Linked DNA regions of Homo sapiens: region 1 is linked to region 2. The links are contacts of gene promoters, found by promoter capture Hi-C in blood cells and fetal thymus (Javierre and others, 2016). All regions are on one chromosome and are shown on one strand. The core of a region is centred on a gene start or on the middle of the fragment in contact, and the rest is flanking DNA. Distances in the headings are between cores, read along the strand shown. Region 1 holds the start of ASPH (aspartate beta-hydroxylase). Region 2 holds the start of RPL7 (ribosomal protein L7).

Region 1 (6,639 bases), core at 1,991-4,490, about 12 Mb after region 2:
TTTAAGTTTTATTCGATAATACTGAGCACATAAATGTTATCATAGTTGTTTCCTCAGGATACAAGAAAGCGCTAGGTAGCCTCTTTCTTTCTGTGATTCATATTTACTAAAACCTCTATTTTGGCCTGATATTGCCCAAGATACACAGCAATGTACCTTGTCAGGGGTACCAGATTTAGTTTCTGGAAATGCAGGAGCAAAGCATCACTTAATGGCATTTTGGAGTTAGCTATAAAACAAATTTGATTTCCTTAAAAAGATAGGCTTTGATAAGCACTTACCACTGGGTTTCAGACCTATCTTTGAAGGTAGGACCAAGGAGGCTTCCTGGAGACATCCATTAACCGAAAAGGGAGCCAGGTGAGACTTTCTCCACTCAAAACTATGTCTTATCCAGGAGGAATAATTTGGAGTATAGACTCTGGAGCCAGTCCAACCAAGTTCACATCCCTCCTCTATCACTTACTAGCTTTGTGACTGTCCCAGCCACTCCAGCTGTGGCTGAAAGGCTCCAACGTACAGCTCAGACTGTGGCTTCAGAAGGTGGAAGCTCCAAGCCTTGGCAACTTCCACGTGGTGTTGAGCCTATAGGTGCACAGAAGTCAAGAATTGAGGTTTGGGAACCTCCGCCTAGATTTCAGAAGATGTATGGAAACGCCTGGATGCCCAGGCAAAAGTTTGCTGCAGGGACAGGGCCCTCATGGAGAACCTCTGCTAGGGCAGTGCAGAAGGGAAATGTGGGGTCAGAGCCCCCACACAGAGTCCATACTGGGTCACTGCCTAGTGGAGCTGTGAGAAGACTGCTACCATCCTCTAGACCCCAGAATGGTAGATCCACTGACAGCTTGCACTGTGCACCTGGAAAAGCCGCAGACACTCAATATCAGCCCGTGAAAGCAGCTGGGAGGGAGGCTGTACCCTGCAAAGCCACAGGGATGCAGCTGCCCAAAACCATGGGAACCCACCTCTTGCATCAGAGTGACCTGGATATGAGACCTGGAGTCAAAGGAGATAATTCTGGAGCTTTAAAATTTGACTGCCCCACTCGAATTCAGACTTGCATGGGCCCTGTAACCCCGCTGTTTTGGCCAATTTCTCCCATTTGAAATGGCTGTATTTACCCAATACCTGTACCCTCATTGTATCTAAGAAGTAACTAGCTTACTTTTGATTTTACAGGCTCTTAGGTAGAAGGGACTTGCCTTGTCTCAGATGAGACTTTGGACTGTGGACTTTTGGGTTAATGCTGAAATGAGTTAAGGCTTTGGGGGACTGTTGGGAAAACATGATTGGTTCTGAAATGTGAGGGCATGAAATTTGGAGGGACTGGGGCAGAATGATATAGTTTGGCTGTGATCCCATTCAAATCTCAACATCAAATTGTATCTCTCAGAATTCCCATGTGTTTTGGGAAGAACCCAGAGGGAGGTAATTGAATCATGGGGGCCGGTCTTTCCTGTGCTATTCTCGTGATAGTGAATTAATTCTCATGAAACCTAATGGGTTTATTGGGGGTTTCTGCTTTTACTTCTTCCTCATTTTCTCTTGCCACCTCCATGTAAGAAGTGCCTTTCACCTCCTGCCATGATTCTGAGGCCTCCCCAGCCATGTGGAACTGTAACTCCAATTAAACCCCTTTTTCTTTCCAGTCTGGGATATGTCTTTATCTGCAGTGTGAAAACGGACTAATACAGTGACCCTACTTTGTTTTATCTCTCTGAGCTTCCAGTATCTAATTTCTTTAAAAAATTGATATGACTACAGGGTTTTGTGAGAATTTAAGGGTAAAAATATCTTTGGTGTGGGGGGTGGGGGGTGGCTAGAGCATTGTGTTTTGAAATTTAGCTCTCATTTTTATTTTATATGAAGCACCATCACTCAGATTTATTTCTTAATCCAGTTCTCCACCTCCTTCATTGAGATAATATAATAGAGGGTTGTAAGGGGGCCCTGAATGGGAGAAAGGATATATGGATGCAGAAGGAGATGCCACAAGATAAAAGCTGAGAGAGCTACTTCAATAAAAACTCTGTGAACTCTCCCCTCCCACCGTCTCTTGATAATAGCCTAACACTATTTGACAAAAGGTAAAGAAAGGCATTCTCTTTATTCTGCAACATGACCTTTGGGGGGTTTCTGTGCATCATCAGGGCAGGGTCAAGCAGCATCCAACCATCCACAGGTGAAAAGGCATGGGGCCGGGGGGAGGCGGGAGTGCTTCTGAAGGCGCGGGTGGGTGGGTTTGTGGGGCTGGAAAAGAGGAATGAAACCAGATGCCACAATGCAACTGCTCTCTCTGGTCCCTGAGCCCTCCTGAGACACTCCCAGGGGTTGCTACGAAACATGATCAAGAGCTGTGGGTTCAGCAATTGACAGAAATGTATCAAATCACTAAGCATTTCTTGCTTGCCTGTTACACATTGGGCATGGTGTTAGCAATGGTGACACAAAGATGATAAAGACGTCGCTGATCTCAAGTCCTTGTCTGGTTCAACCACGTGCCAAGACATTTTAATACTCTGTTGGGAATTCTCAGGCAGCACAGGCCCAGGCGTTAGCAAAGCAGCCAGGGATTTCAGACAGAGGGTGCCATCCAGGGTAAGAAAATGAACTTTTTGTGTCACATTTGCATTTTCATTCCTTAACTAAGAGTATCTGAAAATACTGATGGCACAAACGAACTAAATTCCTGCTTCAGCACCAAATGGATGAACTACTACGGTTTAAGCATTGAACTAGTCCTAATATCACCATTCCAGAAATGTCTTAGTATTAATCAGGACAAGAAATAGGGATCTCTTTCGCAAGAAGCGAGACTGCACTCCTTCCTTTCCTTGTATACGGAAAGGGGACAAAATCCACAGTGAAAGGCCTAGAAGCGGCGCACTCCGCCCACGGGCGGCCCACGTGTCCACCTATTCCGCACCGCGCCCTGTCCCATCCCTATGGAGCGGGGTCTGCCAACGCTCGCGAGAGCCCTCTCGGCTTCCACGTTTGCCACGTTCCAAAGGACCGAGACAAACTGGAAAGCCGAAAGAGGCTCGCGCTCACAGGCAGCTGCGTAGCGCCCGAACAGCCCTAAGTGAGCAGGGGCGGGGAGCGCGGCAGGGTACCGCCGCCTCGTAAGGGCCCTTGCGATTGGGTCCCAGGCGCCGTCACTCAGCCTTCCGGGGGCGGGGCGAGGCCGGGAAGGGGCGTGGCCGTCGGGCGGCGAGCCGCGCGCTCTCGCCCCGGGAGGGAGTCACAGGTTCGTACACGCGAGGCCGGGCGCGCGCAGCCGGCAGGCGGGTGAAGTCTTCCCAGGTGCTGCAGGCGGTGCTGAGGCACAGGGTCTGCTGCAGGAGCAGCGGCCCGAACCCGCTCCAGCGGCCCGCCGCCGCCAGCGGTTCCCGCGTCGCGTGTGTACCCCCGCGCACTGAAGGAGGTCCGCCAGCCCTCACCAGCCCCCGCGGACCGTGCAATGGCCCAGCGTAAGAATGCCAAGAGCAGCGGCAACAGCAGCAGCAGCGGCTCCGGCAGCGGTAGCACGAGTGCGGGCAGCAGCAGCCCCGGGGCCCGGAGAGGTCAGAGGCCCTGCGGGGCGGGGATCTGGGGCCTCGCCTCGGGGTAGGGAGCCGGCTGGCGCGGCGGACGCTGCGGGTGCATCTCCCCAGGTCCCACCGCGCGCCGCCTCCATCCCCCGCGACGCTCCTCCTTTAGGCGCGCGGGGCGGAGGCCGCATTCGGCGGGCCTGGCGGGCGGGCGAGGGGCCAGGCGGACCGGGGTCCGAGCCCTCGGGATGCTAGTCTCGGGGAGCCCCTTCCCAGCGGTTCCTTCACCTGCAGGGCGCAGCCGAGACAGAGGTTGCTGAACGACTGTTTCTTGGCTTTCCGTGGAATTGAACATGGGAGTAAGAGAACAATTTATCGTTTGCCTTGCGTGTTTTGGGGAGTTGAAAATGAGCCAAAGTCAGGGAAAGTGAGTTCCTGCCTAACCAGCAGCGTTTCAGAGCAACTCAAAGGAGGTGAAAATGGGGGCGCCGGGGGGCAGGGGGAGGGAAGAAGTTGGGAGTGATTTGAATGCTCTCAGAAATTATTTTAAATATTTTTGCTTGTATGTAGCTTTCTTAATATGCGTTGCAGTTGCCTTTAAAATAGAATGTCATGAAATACTGAACGAGCGTCTGTATTTTTACCACTTTTACTTAAAATAAAAATCGATTGGATATTCACCTTTCTCCTCGTCCGTGTGCATATCCAGCAGAGAGAACAGATTTTTAAATCTGTTTCGTCTCATATTTCAGTGATTCTTGGTTTCTTTTATACTTCCTTTGACTCATATTTGGGATATTGAAACTGCAATACACATGTGTATGGAATGTGAGCTGTAAACTTCACTTGAAGTGATTTAGACTCTTTGTTTTCTGAGATCTTCAGATCATGCATTCATAATATACCAAGAAAATGAATCAGCTATAGTCAAAGAAGTATTTTCTTTATAGCACTTGTCACTATCTGAACTTGTCTTATTACTTTCATGTGTGTTGTCTTTGGCTCATTCTCTCTGTATCCCCAGCTCCTAGAATGTTCCTTTCCCATAATAGGTGCTCAATAAATATTTGAGTAGTGAATGAATGAATGGATTTAAATGGGGAAAGTAGTGCATTAAATCCATTGCACAAATTTACATTCTAAGGACTAATATTTGTATTCTAAAAGTAAAGATGTAGACACAGTTTGAAGTTCAATGCAAGCATATTAATTCACCTTTGACATAAGTGAAAGTTTGTGTTCCTTTTTCACTTGTTCTTAAATGTCACTTACTTAAACCTGCAGAGGGATAGATTAATTGCCTCAGCCGACTGAGGCTACTCTTTTTTAACATCCCTAAATGAGAATGGGTTCTTCTCATTGTGCCTCTAAGGGCACTAAGCAGAGAAAGCTGATGAACAACTTTAATGTTAGTTGTTTTCAAAAGGTTTCTGTAGCTATTTGCCAGAGAAGCATGTCTTCGTTCCATTTCATTTTTGTGTTTATGAGGAGAGGGCTGATTGCATCTGAGGGAAGTCACTTTATATGGCCTCTTATTGGTGAGAACTAATACTGGGAAATGTGTCTCACGTTTCTAGACCTACCCCATAACTATTTGAAGCATTTTAACAGGCAAGAGATAGGTTTAGAAAATGCAGTAACTTAAATTAACTTCTCCTGACTTTCATAGTCAGGCATTTTAGAACAAACTCTGCCCATATTTGAGGATCTACAGCCTTTTAAGCATTTTACACGTTGATTCTCTAATAGTCATGAAACAGACATAGTATGTAAAAGAATATGTAAAAGGGAGGAATGCCCGTGATACGAAAACAAAAGTTGATATTGGAACCCTGCATGTGACGTAATGAGTATTCTTTATCCGCATATCCGCAACCTTTTCTTTTTTTTCTCCAGTAGATACTGAGTTCTTACTGTGTGCCAGATAGAAGGCACTGGGTATGGAAACCATTTCCTTCCATCACCCTAAACAGTTAAAGTACAGTGTCGTGTATAGTAGGCTGTACTCGAAAGATAAAGCCGGCTTTTCTTTTAATGCTGTTTACCTGGTCATTAAAGTACGGACGTTGTGCGAACCATTTCCTTCTACTGGGAAAATCAAAGACTTTTTAGCAGTGTCATACTGTGAGACCCATTTAGTTTCCTGCTCAAATCATACAGATGAGGAAATTAATGCCCAGAGAAGTTGCCGAGTTCATTGAAGGTTGTTTAGTTCATGGAAACTCAACTAATTACTGGAAGAACCGAGACTAAGAACCCAGGTTTTGTTATTCATTTTGCCATGCTTGAATTTTAGGTTCTCTAGTATGTAATTGGAGTTGAACTAGATTATCAAGTTTTCTTCTGGCTGTCTCCATGAGTACTACATTTAATTATTGGAGAAAACTATGCTTTTGTCCTATCACCAATTACATTTCCCTTGACAAAAATTCTATTTGAAACACTATTTGAAATTTTAGTTTGAGAAGAAGTATATGTGTTCAAATAGTACGTTTTTTGATATGTCTTACATTGAGAGTCAGAAAATGACGGCATTGGTCACATTAAACATTATTATTTCTTAAGTTGTTGTGTAAACGTATGGGGAAAAAAGAACCCAGTCATTTGAAACATGCATTTTAGGGAAAAGGTGATTTCTTTTTTTTTTCCTGGCCAAACTTTATCTTGGTGGTTTTTTTGCTGAAAAGTGATGTTTGGAAGCTGGAATTTGGGGAATTTATATCACAGATTTTTAAAGCAAGTGTCTGCTTTTTATTTTCTTCAGCTTAAGCTGAAAAATGATAAAATGGTTTTCTACAGAGTTCAATTTTACTTTTTTTTCAGTTTTACTCTTTATAATATAAAAGAAACATGAATAAATTAGACTTCCTACCTTTATTTTGCATATAGAACTGGACTTGCATGGCCAGTTGGGCCCAGGGGAAGCCTTTTTCAAATTTATTGATTTGAAAATAGTTTGACAAAGAAGGATCATGATGTCCTTTTGGGCTTATTTTGTAGACACTCGTATGTGTAATGTTTTCTGTTTGTTTGTTTAGTTTTTCCCTTTTGAGTATCACCCCTTAACTCCCTGTATCTCCTAGCAGCTTTCCATCTCCCTGTTTATTTT
Region 2 (6,738 bases), core at 358-2,857:
CCGAGCCCGGCAATCGGGCTCCCGGCTCCGGGGCGCTTGTCACAGAGGCCGGGACGAGAAGGCTGCGCCCCGCGCCCGCCCCCGAGGTGCCCGCCGGGTTGGAGTGCGCGGCGCCGCTCCCTGCCTGCGCGGGGCCACTCCCGCCCGGGCTCGGCGCTGTGGCCCCGGACTGTGCCCGCCGCGGCAGTCACCCGGCTCGGCGCCTCCTGCCGGCAGCCGCCCGCCCGTCCCGCAGCGCCCGGCCGGCCGGCTCCGCTGCAGTGGCGGTGACAGCCGCGAGTTAGACTACTCGAACTGCCCTCATGGCCAAGCTGCTGCCGCCCGAGCGTCCCCGGAACCGGCGCGCCGGCTCCCTCTCACCCCGGGGGAGGGGTGCGCAGCGGAGGCGGCACGGGCCAGCGGGCTGCCGCGGGAGTTGTCAACTCGACCCAAGTTGCGAGAGGGTGGGAGAGTGGGGTGCGGGGCGGCGGAGCGCCGGGAAGGGGAGACTCGCTCGGCGCAGGCAAGCGCTGCCCAACGCCTTGCAGCTGCCCCCGAGGGCTCGCGTTCCCCGGCCCTGCACTCTCCGCGGGTGTCACTCGGGCACTGGGCTCCGCAGCGCAGCCCGCTTGCAAGTCAGAGCGCTCCGGGCCGGCTCTGAGCGGGCTCCACGCTCCGCGCTATATAACCCCGCGACCGGGAAGAGCCCGCGCCAGCCTCGGCATCGGCCCTCCCTCCGCCCGGCCTCCCCGCCCCCGGGCGCACCCCGCCCCCGGCCCAGCCCCCAGCCCGCCAGCCGTCCGCGGAGCCGAGCCGGGTAGCCCCTCTCACACGGCCGTGGCCGCAACCTCAGCCCTCCTCGCACCTCCCTTCGCAGCTCACGCCCCCTCCCGTGGGGTGTCCTGGCCTCCGCCTGCCGAGCTCGGCAGTCAGCAGAGCCCCGGCCATCCTCCTCCGGCCGTCCGGTCCCCACTGGTCCCTGGCTAGCCACTTTTCGTAAGCTAGAGCACTCCAGACCGCCCCGCCTGCGATCAGGCGCTGCGGAAGACAGCCCTGTGGGCTGGAGCGACGACAAGGACCTCGCGGAGCGGCGAAAGGGGTGTAGTCTGCGACTACCGCGGCAGGGAGCCGGGAGGGCGGCCAAAAGTGACTTCGAATTGCAGCTAGCCGTTTGGAACGTGGCCCAAGAGGCTCTCATTTTCCTGGCTGGAACCGTCGCCGCGGTGCTTGCCTGCGGTCCTGGTCAGCCGTTGCCCTCCCGCCGGGCGGGCGAAGACTGGTGCATGCTGGGATTTGTAGTTCGTCCCCATGAGGCTCGTCCTGGGAACATTATGGGGAGGAACGGAGCCTAATCCTGTCAGCGCAGCCTGGGGATTAGGACCCGGAGTTGCCAAGGTGTCAGCACTCTTTGCTCTTGAATTGATTAAAAAGTCTAATCAAATGCATATATTTTCTTCAAACAAGTTTTACCCGAAAGTTTGTTGAAAGAGGCTAAATCAGGGAGTTCTTTGCGTCTGCAAGGCGGCTTTTTAGTTCTGGATTCTTTTCCGGCTTATTCTAAGACACCTATGAGTCGTGGGGCTTCTCTCGCGAAGTCTTTAAGTGGACAGTACGCATGCGCCAACTTCCTCTTTTTCCGGCTGGAACCATGGAGGGTGTAGAGTGAGTTGCTTCTGGTCCTCTTGAGAATCCTTCTCCATCTCCAGAGCCAGATACTTTTTGTGTCACTTTTTCTCTCTCTGGCCGTAGCTTGCACCTTTGCCCACCTCCCTGCTTGATTGTGAACGCTGTGTGACACCAGTGGGGACCTGAGGCTAGGGTTGGGATGCGGGCGGTCTTAGGACGGAGGTTTTGGAGATCCCGGGAACGAGATGTCGGGTTGGAATGTGTGTGGAACCCGTCGGTTGGCTGACGGCCCAGTCCTCGGTAGAGGGTCTTTCGGGGGAGGCGCAGAACCTCTGAATTGTGTTCGTCCTTGGCTGGTGCTTGGTACAGGCCTCCCTGCCGCCAGGCCTTTGCTTTCAACATGTGGATCCTGATTGAACCAGAGTGGTGGTGGCTTGTTTTTTTTTTATTTTTATTTTTTAATTTTTGCGCTTAAAGTCTCGGGGTCAGTGCCTTGCAGTAGTCTTTCAGCTAGTACATTTTGTTATTCGGGTGTTGGTGTGTTTTTTTTGTTTTTTTTTTTAATTAGTCGTCGGAGGCCGGGCCTCTTGGTTGAAATAGGGAAAAACGTATTGCTATTGTCATATTTGTGATTGCGTTTTAGGCAACATGGTGTTAAAGGTTATTGACATGGAGCTAAAATATGCATCGTACACTGTAGCATGCCAGAGCAAGTAAAGTTACTAGTGACTAAAGTCAGTGACAGCATTTCTGGTAAACAACACTGCTCAGTACGGGAGTAATACAGCGCTGTGAGCTTTTTGAGCTATTGATAACATTTTTGTTTATTAACGTTAGAGAGAAGAAGAAGGAGGTTCCTGCTGTGCCAGAAACCCTTAAGAAAAAGCGAAGGAATTTCGCAGAGCTGAAGATCAAGCGCCTGAGAAAGAAGTTTGCCCAAAAGATGGTAAGTAAACTTTTTGAGGCACTAGCACATAAGGAGGCGCCTTATTGGGATTGAGGATGAGGTGAATGTTCTTGGCAAGATTTACTTCCTAACTGTACTGAGTAATTGCTTAGCTACCTAATGTTACAATCTGAAGGTAGTGGGGTTTTTTGGTGGGGGATGTAATTGCATACTGTGGCAAGAAAAGATTTAAAGGAAACATGTTGTAGTTTTCTTTTTAATGATTGGCATTGCTAATTGTGATTGAGCTAAAAATTATGAATAACTGATTATTGGTTTTCAGCTTCGAAAGGCAAGGAGGAAGCTTATCTATGAAAAAGCAAAGCACTATCACAAGGAATATAGGCAGATGTACAGAACTGAAATTCGAATGGCGAGGATGGCAAGAAAAGCTGGCAACTTCTATGTACCTGCAGAACCCAAATTGGCGTTTGTCATCAGAATCAGAGGGTAAGTTCAGTTTTACTGCATTCGGGTTTGAATGGGAAAAAAAAAAAAAACCTTCACATTACTTCTGGGAGCCCTGATTCTGAAACACCGGAGTAACAATATTTTAGGGGAAGCTAGAACAAGGAGGGTGCTGATCACTAATGGTTTAGTTGCAAGCCATGTTCCCCAAGCTCCTATCCCTTCTCTTAATAGAATACAGAAATTCAGTGTGTAACATGAGAGGATTCCTATCTGTTTAGGTAGGATTCGATATTCAAAACTATAATGGTTAGTATTAATAAAAATTTCGATGAAAGGCAAATGCATTTCTGGTCCGTTTTCACCACAGTATCAATGGAGTGAGCCCAAAGGTTCGAAAGGTGTTGCAGCTTCTTCGCCTTCGTCAAATCTTCAATGGAACCTTTGTGAAGCTCAACAAGGCTTCGATTAACATGCTGAGGATTGTAGAGCCATATATTGCATGGGGGTAAGTCTCTTTTCTCCTTTGATTTCTATTTGATAAATTGGTTATGTAGCAACATGAATTTTAGATGTTTTAACAGTGGTCACCTTATTTATGTTTGCTTTTTCACTTCAGGTACCCCAATCTGAAGTCAGTAAATGAACTAATCTACAAGCGTGGTTATGGCAAAATCAATAAGAAGCGAATTGCTTTGACAGATAACGCTTTGATTGCTCGATCTCTTGGTAGGTTCTATTTGGGGGAAAATTTGGTATTAGACCATGCGATAATTTCTTACCCTCTTGTGGCCGTACATTTCTCACTATTGTGAATCTTCATGTGTTCCCTATGATTCTTGATTTAGCTTAAAAGAAAACGTAAGACATGGTTTCATTAGCTTGAACCTTATCTTTGTAAAGCCATGCATTTACCTTGTTTATTCCTGGTTATGTTTTCATCTCACAGCCTATTCAAAAAGATTTTGAATAATTATTTCAAAACTTTTTGCAACTTTAATAATCTTAAATAACCTTAAAATATTTAGGTAAATACGGCATCATCTGCATGGAGGATTTGATTCATGAGATCTATACTGTTGGAAAACGCTTCAAAGAGGCAAATAACTTCCTGTGGCCCTTCAAATTGTCTTCTCCACGAGGTGGAATGAAGAAAAAGACCACCCATTTTGTAGAAGGTGGAGATGCTGGCAACAGGGAGGACCAGATCAACAGGCTTATTAGAAGAATGAACTAAGGTGAGAGACCTCATCCTGAGAAAGGTTGAGTTAATGTTAGAGTATAAGTGGTGGTAATCTTGAATACTTTTCCCATTAAATATTGATGGGGGTTTGAATTTTAATCAGTGCTTTTGTGGGGAGTGGGGGTCAACTATCTTAATGATTACAGTTGGTTTGTTTACTGCTTTTGAGGACCTTTCTGGAGGAAAGGAAAAGCCTGTTTTGGGGAGTCTTTAAAGATGGAAATTGGGTGGTCTTAAAAATGTAAACTCAATCATTACTTTATAACTGCCTAGTTTATGTTAATTGTTAGCTGCCTAAAGTGTTTTCTAATGGTTTTCTTTTTTCCTTTCAGGTGTCTACCATGATTATTTTTCTAAGCTGGTTGGTTAATAAACAGTACCTGCTCTCAAATTGAAATATATTGTTGTATTTGTGATTTGTTGTTGTTGTTGTTAGCCTGCCTCTGTCTTCCCTTAACTACTGTGGCAAGTGTGGTGTGTGATAAAATTAAGCCAAATCAACAGCCCATTTCGTGCAAAATCAGGGTCGAGTCTGTGTGAAAGACATCTCTTGGGTTTTTAAAAGGCTTTTCTATACAAAAGATTTTAATTTTTTGTTTTTTAACTGTGCTGAGTGATTCGAAATGGGTTTATTCTAAGAAAGCCTGTTTCACAAGCATTTGTACATGATTTGTCGGTAAGGTAATCCAACTTTGGTTTATGGAAAAAATTGAATTTAGTTGCTAAAATTTATTTCTCGGGCCTTCGCTTGTTTATAAACTGCCATGTAAATGTGTTGTTTTCCTTTTGCATTCCATTTTTGTGTTCTTGTTTTGCATCTTTTGCCATACTTACGTGAGTTACTAATAATTGTTACATACTGTGGGTATTATGAAGGAAGGCATGAAATTTGTGCCCAGGGATGCAAATTATTTCAGAGCATCTGATGAAATTAATGGGCAAAAACTTCAAAGGTTTTTTTGTAAATAACATTCCTTTATACTTCATGTATTGTTTCACCTAGACTAGTGAACAATGTAGAGTGTAACATGAAGTACATAGAATGAGAGTAAAAATGTTTGTGGTCCTCATTTAGTTGTCAAAGTTCTGACACACTGAAACAGCTCCCTTAGTAATTATTTTGGTACTACTGCTCCACAGTCATTTATTGCTTTTTAATATTCGAAAGTTGCTAGACAAATAGAATTTCTTTGAGTTCTTTGTTCCTGGTTTTGGGACCTATTTCTCTGGCTTAGTAAGTTTGTTTAGGGTCAGTGAATTTTGGAGAGAAATCAAGATGATCGTTTATAAAAATCATTTTACATATTTATGATTGTATCAGTGTTTTGCTAGATGTTTTTTGTCTTAGCAGTTGGGTCAATATTTTGAAATAGTACATGGATATCTAGGTAGAGCCAAAGAGTTTATTTTTTAATTTTCCTTTGTAGAGATGAGATCCACACCAGCCTGTATTCCCCAGCATGTTACTGAACTCCTGGCCTCAAGCAATCCTACTGCCTCAGTCCCCTGAATAGTTGGGATTACAGGCATGACCCACTGCCTCCAGAGGGTTTTTAAGTTATAAATTCAGTTTTGTCTTACTGCTTTGGTAGATAGAGAGTACAGTTCCCAGTGTTAGCACATCCAGTGTCATGAAGGGTAGTTGTGCCTCAGAAGATGTCAGAGCCTGTTTGGCTTCCAGGTTTTAGAGGAATAGTGAGGGCCATCAGTGGCCTCTGCAGGGTCAGAATTAAGACTAATTATGGAATGAAGTTGTACAGATGGTGTATTGCTTGCTTAATCTAGGTGCAGGTGGGTGGGTGCATGAAATGTGGGAAGTCTTCATTGGGATAGGAATAAGCACTTTATATACAGAGAGATACTTAGCAAAGCTTTTTTTAAAAAAAAATATATAAATATATAGCCCATGCAGACACATATTGTAAGTGTGGCCTGGGGCCAGGGAGGATGGGGAAATGTGGGAGGGGTTGCAGAGAACCAGGATTCCCATAGAGAACAGAGTAAAGTGGGATAACCAATCTGGTTTTATAAGAGGATTGTGAGGAACAATAATAGGTACGAAAATGTTTGTGAGCTGGTGGAACCTATTCAAATGCAGATTAACACCTGATTAGGAAACTCACTTCTTATAAATGTCATTGCTTTCAAGGGATCCTCCTCTGGAAGGCCTAACCAACCTTAGGGGTCTGGGCACCCAGTAGGTTCTCCTACAAGATTACACCTCATATATGTTTATTTCCTGTTCATCCTTCTAAGGTCCGGCTTTCTCTAGTGGATGGTCCCTTAGCTATCTCAGTTTTTATAAAGTTGTCTTGGACTCACTGGCCTTTAACCAGTGTTAACCTAGTTAGTAACTTCTTTGAAGGTTCATTTGTGGTTCGCTGGATTAGGAGTGTTGGCTTCGGAGCCAGAGTGCTTGGGTTCATATCTAGTCTCCACTTATTTGTTAGCGTGGGCCAATAAATAATCTCTGTCTCGGTTTCCATGTCAGCAAAATGGAGATAATTTTGCCTAATTTCATAGGATTTTAATGAAG

The links. Contacts are between HindIII fragments. The CHiCAGO score rates a contact against its expected background, and 5 or more counts as called.
Region 1: the fragment with the promoter of ASPH here is called in contact with the fragment with the promoter of RPL7 in region 2 in 1 of 17 cell types (naive CD8 T cells); the score reaches 5.9 in naive CD8 T cells.

What each region holds. Positions count from the first base shown.
Region 1 is chr8:61,711,193-61,717,831 of GRCh38, reverse strand. ASPH (aspartate beta-hydroxylase) reads left to right here and starts at 3,240. Exons shown (of 25, transcript NM_004318.4): 1 at 3,240-3,563. The coding sequence starts at 3,461. MIR4470 (microRNA 4470) reads right to left here and starts at 3,044; the gene lies at 2,973-3,044. RefSeq lists silencers at 3,031-3,400, 3,441-3,870. The HindIII fragment of the contact is 6,840 bases long and covers 1-6,639 here.
Region 2 is chr8:73,288,502-73,295,239 of GRCh38, reverse strand. It overlaps RPL7 (ribosomal protein L7), which reads left to right and starts at 1,607. Exons shown (of 7, transcript NM_000971.4): 1 at 1,607-1,641; 2 at 2,443-2,551; 3 at 2,835-3,001; 4 at 3,330-3,467; 5 at 3,579-3,688; 6 at 3,988-4,197; 7 at 4,535-4,998. The coding sequence starts at 1,628. The coding sequence ends at 4,196. It overlaps RDH10 (retinol dehydrogenase 10), which reads right to left and starts at 638. Exons shown (of 6, transcript NM_172037.5): 1 at 1-638. RefSeq lists a silencer at 1-905 and enhancers at 996-1,485, 939-1,646, 1,606-1,965, 1,976-2,025, 1,647-2,355. The HindIII fragment of the contact is 6,100 bases long and covers 1-2,857 here.